Linked DNA regions of Homo sapiens: region 1 is linked to region 2. Evidence: promoter capture Hi-C in 16 types of primary human blood cells and fetal thymus (Javierre and others, 2016). All regions are on one chromosome and are shown on one strand. The core of a region is centred on a gene start or on the middle of the fragment in contact, and the rest is flanking DNA. Distances in the headings are between cores, read along the strand shown. Region 1 overlaps CASTOR1 (cytosolic arginine sensor for mTORC1 subunit 1). Region 2 holds the start of LIF (LIF interleukin 6 family cytokine).

Evidence for each region. The method cuts DNA at HindIII sites, captures the fragments that hold promoters and counts their contacts. A CHiCAGO score of 5 or more calls a contact.
Region 1: a fragment that was not itself captured here is called in contact with the fragment with the promoter of LIF in region 2 in 2 of 17 cell types (monocytes and M2 macrophages); the score reaches 5.3 in monocytes.

Annotation. Positions count from the first base shown.
Region 1 is chr22:30,285,170-30,287,869 of GRCh38, reverse strand. It overlaps CASTOR1 (cytosolic arginine sensor for mTORC1 subunit 1), which reads left to right. Exons shown (of 9, transcript NM_001037666.3): 3 at 310-497; 4 at 583-715; 5 at 922-1,045; 6 at 1,494-1,607; 7 at 1,772-1,854; 8 at 1,944-2,038; 9 at 2,182-2,700. The coding sequence ends at 2,250. Among named protein-coding and RNA genes, the nearest start is that of CASTOR1, 3.0 kb to the left of the region's middle. The HindIII fragment of the contact is 2,999 bases long and covers 1-2,700 here.
Region 2 is chr22:30,244,040-30,248,118 of GRCh38, reverse strand. LIF (LIF interleukin 6 family cytokine) reads left to right here and starts at 1,360. Exons shown (of 3, transcript NM_002309.5): 1 at 1,360-1,442; 2 at 3,186-3,364; 3 at 4,058-4,079. The coding sequence starts at 1,424. LIF-AS2 (LIF antisense RNA 2) reads right to left here and starts at 1,909. Exons shown (of 1, transcript NR_148946.1): 1 at 1,126-1,909. RefSeq lists an enhancer at 2,910-3,410. The HindIII fragment of the contact is 10,846 bases long and covers 1-3,532 here.

The DNA of each region.
Region 1 (2,700 bases), core at 201-2,700, 40 kb before region 2:
TTTACAGATGAGGAAACTGAGACTCAAATCACCCACCCCAGGTCATAAGACAAATTAACAAAGCTGGGATTTGAACCCAGGTCTGTCTGAATCTGGACCTCTGATCTTAAGTGGGAAGTTTCAATGCCACCAGGCCAGCACTTGAAGCCTTTCTCAGTCTTTGCACACATAGGGACTTCAGGAGCCCCAGCCTCCAGACCTGCCCTTACCTTGATGGAGCCCTCCAAGGCACAGAAAGGGAAACTGAGGCTCAGAGAGGGGCAGGGGCCAGCCTTGTAGACCCTGACCTGACATGTCCCCTGCCCACAGAGCTGCCCCCATCTGAGTTCCTGCAAGTAGCTGAGGCCACATGGCTGGTGCTGAACGTGTCGTCTCACAGCGGTGCGGCAGTGCAGGCTGCTGGGGTCACCAAGATCGCCCGTTCGGTCATCGCGCCACTGGCCGAGCACCACGTGTCTGTGCTGATGCTGTCCACTTACCAGACGGACTTCATCCTGGTGAGTTTCCTGCTGGTGCTGATGCAGAGCAGGGTGGATATAGGTACCTGGGAGCCCATGTGATGTGCCATCTGCTGTGGCCCAGGTGCGGGAGCAGGACCTGTCCGTGGTGATCCACACGCTGGCCCAGGAGTTCGACATTTACCGCGAGGTGGGCGGAGAGCCTGTGCCTGTGACGAGGGATGATTCCAGCAATGGCTTTCCCCGCACTCAGCATGGTGAGGGCCGCCCCCTGACACTTGGACTTGGGCAGGGCCTCCTCTTCCCACTGGGTCCCTTCCCTTTTGGGCCCCAGTGGGGCAGGAGGACCCCGGCCAGTTCCTGGATAGCAAGACCTGCCCCTGGCCCACGCCTCTCCCTGACTAGCCACCAGGGGGCGCCCCAGCCCACGGACACCTTTTCACCTGCTGCTGTCCTCCAGCAGGGCCCAGCCCCACGGTGCATCCCATCCAGAGCCCACAGAACCGCTTCTGTGTCCTCACACTGGACCCTGAGACGCTTCCAGCCATCGCCACCACCCTCATAGATGTCCTCTTCTACTCGCACAGGTGGACCTTGGAACTTCGTCTTTGTCCTCACAGCACTGTTCCCTACACTCTGTCCCACCACTTTCCGCCCATCTATCAGTTTTGCACCTCTTGCTTGTCCTCTCTTGGGGTTCCTGGCAGCCCATGATGCTCACTTGTGCTTCACTGATGTTCGGGGAAGGTTCTTGCCCCAAAGCTGGATCCCTTTCCAGTGGGGTCGTCTGAGCCATGCCCTGGTCTGGCCCTCTCACCGTGGAATCCTTTGTTTTTGGCACAGGCTGGGTTCATTGTCCTCCCCCATCCCCACCCACACCTTCCAGAGGGCTGGACCCTTGGGCGGGTAGCAGATATGGCAGAGCCTGCCCAGGCCACCATACCAGCTCCTTCCCAGGGTTCTGGAGGCTGATCGGGAGCAGGGGCAGTAGGCTGGGTGCCTGGTAGAGCCCCTAAACCTCCCATCCCTCCCCAGCACCCCCAAGGAGGCAGCCTCTAGCAGTCCTGAACCCAGCTCCATCACGTTCTTTGCCTTCTCCCTCATCGAGGGTTATATCTCCATTGTCATGGATGCTGAAACACAGAAAAAGTAGGTGACCCCTGACCCCGGGTGGGCCCCAGGCCCCAGCCAGTCCCAGGCAGGGAGGAGGTGGGGCATCAGACTCTGAGGTCAGCAGGTGTACCTGTCCCAGAGCTCACGGTCAGGCAGGGGTGGATGGGGGTGCCCTGCCCATCACCCATCTCCCTCCCCAGGTTCCCCAGTGACCTCCTGCTGACCAGCTCCTCGGGGGAGCTGTGGAGGATGGTGCGCATCGGTGGACAGCCCCTGGGCTTTGGTGAGGGCTGTTCCCGGTGTTGGGGGGCTGGGGAGTGTCTGGGGAGCAACCGGCATGTGCCACATGTGGCCTTCCTCCACCACCCTCAGATGAATGTGGCATCGTGGCACAGATTGCAGGTCCCCTGGCTGCCGCTGACATCTCTGCCTACTACATCAGCACCTTCAACTTCGACCACGCCCTGGTGAGCACCAAGGGCTGGGGCAGAGGGGAGAGTGAGGCCCAGAAATGTGGGCGGCAGGAGGTAGTCTCAGCTGGGCCAGGAAGTCAGGGGTGGCCCTGGCCAGCTTCCGCCTTGACCCTTCCCTCCTGCCCACCTGCCCTCAGGTGCCCGAGGACGGTATCGGCAGCGTCATCGAGGTCCTCCAGCGGCGGCAGGAAGGCCTGGCTTCCTGAGGCCCATGGGCAACAGAGCAGCCTCCCTGCTCTCCCCTCGACCCAGGCTTCCAAAGACTTCTCTAAGCTATTTCCTTAAGCTCTGGAACGAGCCCCCTGTTCTGCTGGGGACCCTCGTTCCGCTCTCTGTATGTAAGCTGCGTGCAGGCACCGGCTTTTACGCGGACACCTGTGTACACTCACAGGTGGAGTGGGCAGGTGCTAGCCTGACTGCGTGTCTGCCCATGCAGGGGAACACGGTGCTCGGGGCTTAAGCCCCCAACCCATCACTCCCTGCGCAGCCTCGGCGTTTGCACAGTCCCTGCCTGAGGCCTGAGCCATTCCCCAAAGGCTTCCTGGGCCAGCTGCCCCGCTGACCTCCGTTCTGCCTCTGGTGGGGTTGCCTTCCCTGGCCAGGTGAGTCCTGACAGTGCCTCTCCCTCCTGGGGCCTCCAAGGAAAGTATTTTGAC
Region 2 (4,079 bases), core at 111-2,610:
GGATGGGCGAGGGGGCGGTGGGGGCCCGGGCGAGGCTGCAAGAGCTCCCTGGCCTTGGAAAACCAACTCACACACCTTGATCTCAGGTCAGGGTCAGGCGGAAGGGCTGGGAAGGGGCCACAGGGGACTAAATCATCTCCTGGTACTGGGGGTCCCCTGGCAGCTTTAGGGACGGCATGGCCCCAGACGCGTGGCCATGCTGTCTGGCCGGCATTCCCGCATCTCATAGGGTGTATTTATTTTCACTTTTCTGTTGCATTTCTTGGAGGTGTCCCTGTGCTCATTTTGCCCGGCTCCCCACTGCTCCTTTCTGCCCTTCCTCATTCACAAATCGCCTGGCCTCAGAAGACGCCAGAACATGTGACACTGCCTTAGAGCCTCTAGAAGCACTTTTTGGGGACCTCCATCATTCTCTGAGGCTGGGCTCAAAGGGGCTTCCAAGGCAGGTCTGGAAGGGACCAGCCACTTCTCAGTTTCCCCAACCATCAATCAGCACCCGGAGGAGGAAACTGGGGTACGATTTCGCCAAGCCTCTCTCAGTCCTGCTTCAGAATGGAAATGCTGGACCGCCTTCCCAGAAGCACCTTCCCAGAGTGTCCCGACAGAACTGAGTCAGTCACCCCTACCCCCATGTCTTCCTAGCCCCTTCCCCAGCCTCACAGGTACAGTGGTCAGCAGGGCGAGTGCACTGGTGGTGTCTGGAGGCCTGACCCTCTGGGGCCCTGGGCAACGTGTTCCCCTCGGAGCCCCTTGGGGCCCAGTGGCAATGTGCAGATTGGAGGAGGCTACCTCTGGGGTGGCTTCCAGCGCCCATGTTCAGTTCCACTTTATGACCGTCTAAAGTCCACGCCGGCCCCGGCCCCTCCTCCTGGAGCCTCCTTCTCAGCCAAGCCCTAGCCCTCCTCCTCCCACTGCCCCCCTAAAGCCCCCCAACCAGGGGGCACAGGGGCCAGTCTCCATCTGCTAGTCCAGACTCGCTACCTCCCCAAACCCAGGTGAGTCAGGGCCGTCTGGGGCGCCCACTGCTGGGACCCCTGCTGACTCGGCCAGGGGCCCCCTCCTGGCGATGCCCATCTTCAGACAACTCCCGGGACAAGCCAGGCAGGAAAACCACAGGGCGTTTTGTCGAAGGCTTCATTATAATTTTATCAATCAAATTCTTAGAAGAGGGAAAAAGTCTGTTCTCCCCACCCTCCCCCCTCACTCGTCCCCCCCCTTCACTCTCACTTTCTTCCATTCATAATTTCCTATGATGCACCTCAAACAACTTCCTGGACTGGGGATCCCGGCTAAATATAGCTGTTTCTGTCTTACAACACAGGCTCCAGTATATAAATCAGGCAAATTCCCCATTTGAGCATGAACCTCTGAAAACTGCCGGCATCTGAGGTTTCCTCCAAGGCCCTCTGAAGTGCAGCCCATAATGAAGGTCTTGGCGGCAGGTAAATACACCCGCCCCGCGCCGGCTTCGCGTCCCCGCTGCGGGGCGCGGCGGCAACTTGGGGCGCTTGGCAGCGCGAGCCGGACGCCCACCCGCCGCAGACACACGAACACTTGGGGCGCCCGCGCAGCCACCGGAGGCGCTGGGTGGCGGCCCGGAGCGAGCGCGGGCACATGGTCCCAAGCACCGCACGCCCCGCGGCAGGTTGGCGGCGAGGGAGGGGGCGCCGAGCCTTCCTCCTCCTCCTCTTCTTCCCCCTCTCCTTCTCCTCCTCCTCCTCCTCGCTCCGGACACTCGCTGGCTGCTCTTCCCTCTGCGCTTTCTCCCAGATTCACTCTCCCTCTCTCTTTTTCTTTTCTTTCTTTCTTTCCGCTTTCTCCTTTCCAACCGCGGTCCCGGGCTGCTCCCAGGGAGGGGCGCGGGCGGCGAGCAGCTTGCAAACTCCGGCCTGGGACGGGAGCAGGTGCCGCCTCCATCTGCTGGTGTCTGGAAGCGTGTGGTCTGCGCTAGGTGAGATATAGGGGTGTGGCCCCCCTCCCGCAGCCACCCCGGGGCCTCAGCACTGCCTTGGGATGCTGGGACGAACAGGGGACCCAGGAGAAGTGAACTTGAGGAGGCCCCTGTCCCCGCTGTTCCAGCATGGGGGATCCGGGGGAGGTCTCCAGCCTCACTCGCCCGCTGACCCCGGCCCCCACCATCTTCAGGTGCCCTTCTGCAGAGCCCTGGAAAAGCGTCTAAGGGGGCCTGGGGGGAGTCGGGAGAACAGGCCCCCCTGGGGGAGGGGCAAACCAGGACATGTCGGGACAGCTCCCAGCTCTCCTGTCACCTTTCACTTTCCTTCCTCCCCGCCCACCCGACTGCCTATGACCTTTTGCCTTTTCTCTCTCCTGGTGCACCATTTCCTCTCCCTCCCTGAGCCGGTGTGTGTGTGTTAGGAGGGAGGGGAACCCCTGGGACAAGGGACAGCGGATGAGTCGGGAGAAGGCATGGAGTCAGGGGCTGTCCGGAGCTGGGGGAACAGAGAGTTTTGAATGATGATTTGGGGATGGAGAGTGGGGACAGCCAGGCAGAAATGGGGTGAGCTTGAGTGAGATAGGGGACACTAGGGAAGGAAGAGATAGAGGATGATGGGGGCGGGGGCAGAATTGGGGGCAATTGGCCCAGGGAGCCAGAATCAAGTGGCAGGTTTGGGAGGGAGATGAGGGTCAACCGAGGACTCCTCCCCACTCCCCCATGCCCCGTGGCCCCCATGGGTGCCTGGCTTCGGAGATTTGGGCTGCAATGGGCCAGTGAGTGGGAAGCGCTGCTGAGGAACCTGGGCCACCACGGGAGGTGGGAAGAGAGGGGTCTCCTTTCTCCTGGTGCCTGCTGGGCCTGGGGCCTGGTGCCTTCCAGCCAGAGGGCCAGGGGGCCTTAGGACCTTTGCCTTCCTGAGGGAAAGGGTGGGATGGCTGGGAGTCTCTCCTGGACCCTGCACCCTTTGGGTGGAAATGGCTTGTGTCTTGCCCTCATCTTTACGTCATCCCAGAAGAGAGCAGGGAGAACTAAGGTAGAGAAAGGGAGACAGAGAAACACACGCAGTGACAGAGTGAAGACTAGGCCCCAGGAAGACAGCTGCAGGTGGTGAGGGGGAACCAGGAGTCCTCTCCCATGCGGCCATTGTTGGACCCCCATCCGGTGTGCCATGACCCCAGGCCACCCTTTCCTGCCTTTCTACTCATGGCTTCTTCCTGACTGTCCCCAGGAGTTGTGCCCCTGCTGTTGGTTCTGCACTGGAAACATGGGGCGGGGAGCCCCCTCCCCATCACCCCTGTCAACGCCACCTGTGCCATACGCCACCCATGTCACAACAACCTCATGAACCAGATCAGGAGCCAACTGGCACAGCTCAATGGCAGTGCCAATGCCCTCTTTATTCTCTATGTAAGTTACCCCTGGGATACTGACAGGAGATGGCAGGGAGGGGGCTTGTAAATATCATTAGGGGCTGTCCTGATCTGGGTTGAGGGGACCTTTTGGGGCTGGAAGGAGAGAATGGGGAGAGGGCTTGATTAAACCACCCCCAGACTCCCGCCACTTCCTGCCCAAGCTTCCCCAGGGAAGCTTCCCCAGGGTGCCCAGTTAGCAAGGGGAGAACTGAGTGCAAAGGTGGGGACCTGGCACTTCTTATCTTGTGATTGTCCTGCTGCAGGGAGCGAGGGATGGAGGGGAAATGGGCGTGAGGCACCAGGGAGATGCGGTTGAGAGGCAGTGGGCTGTGGGTGCTGGGCATGGAGGGGCGTCCCGGAACATTGTGAGTGCAGGGATGGAAGTACTTGTGTGTGGTGCCCCAGCTAGGGCTAGACACCGAGTTTTCCCTTCTGTCCCCTTAGGGTGGTGATGATGATGATGATGATAATGATGACTGCGTGCATGGCTCAGTCTTTGATCTTTAGCAAGGGCACTCACATTACAATTAGTTTTGGCTCTCATGACAATTCCAGATGCTTACAGGGCAAGGAGTTGGGTCCTCATGCGCTAGATGGGGAAACAGACGCAAGAGCTTGCCCAAAGGGTTGGCGGCAGGGCTGGGACACTGACCCCTGACTCCCACGTCACCTCCCTTCTGCCCCTCAGTACACAGCCCAGGGGGAGCCGT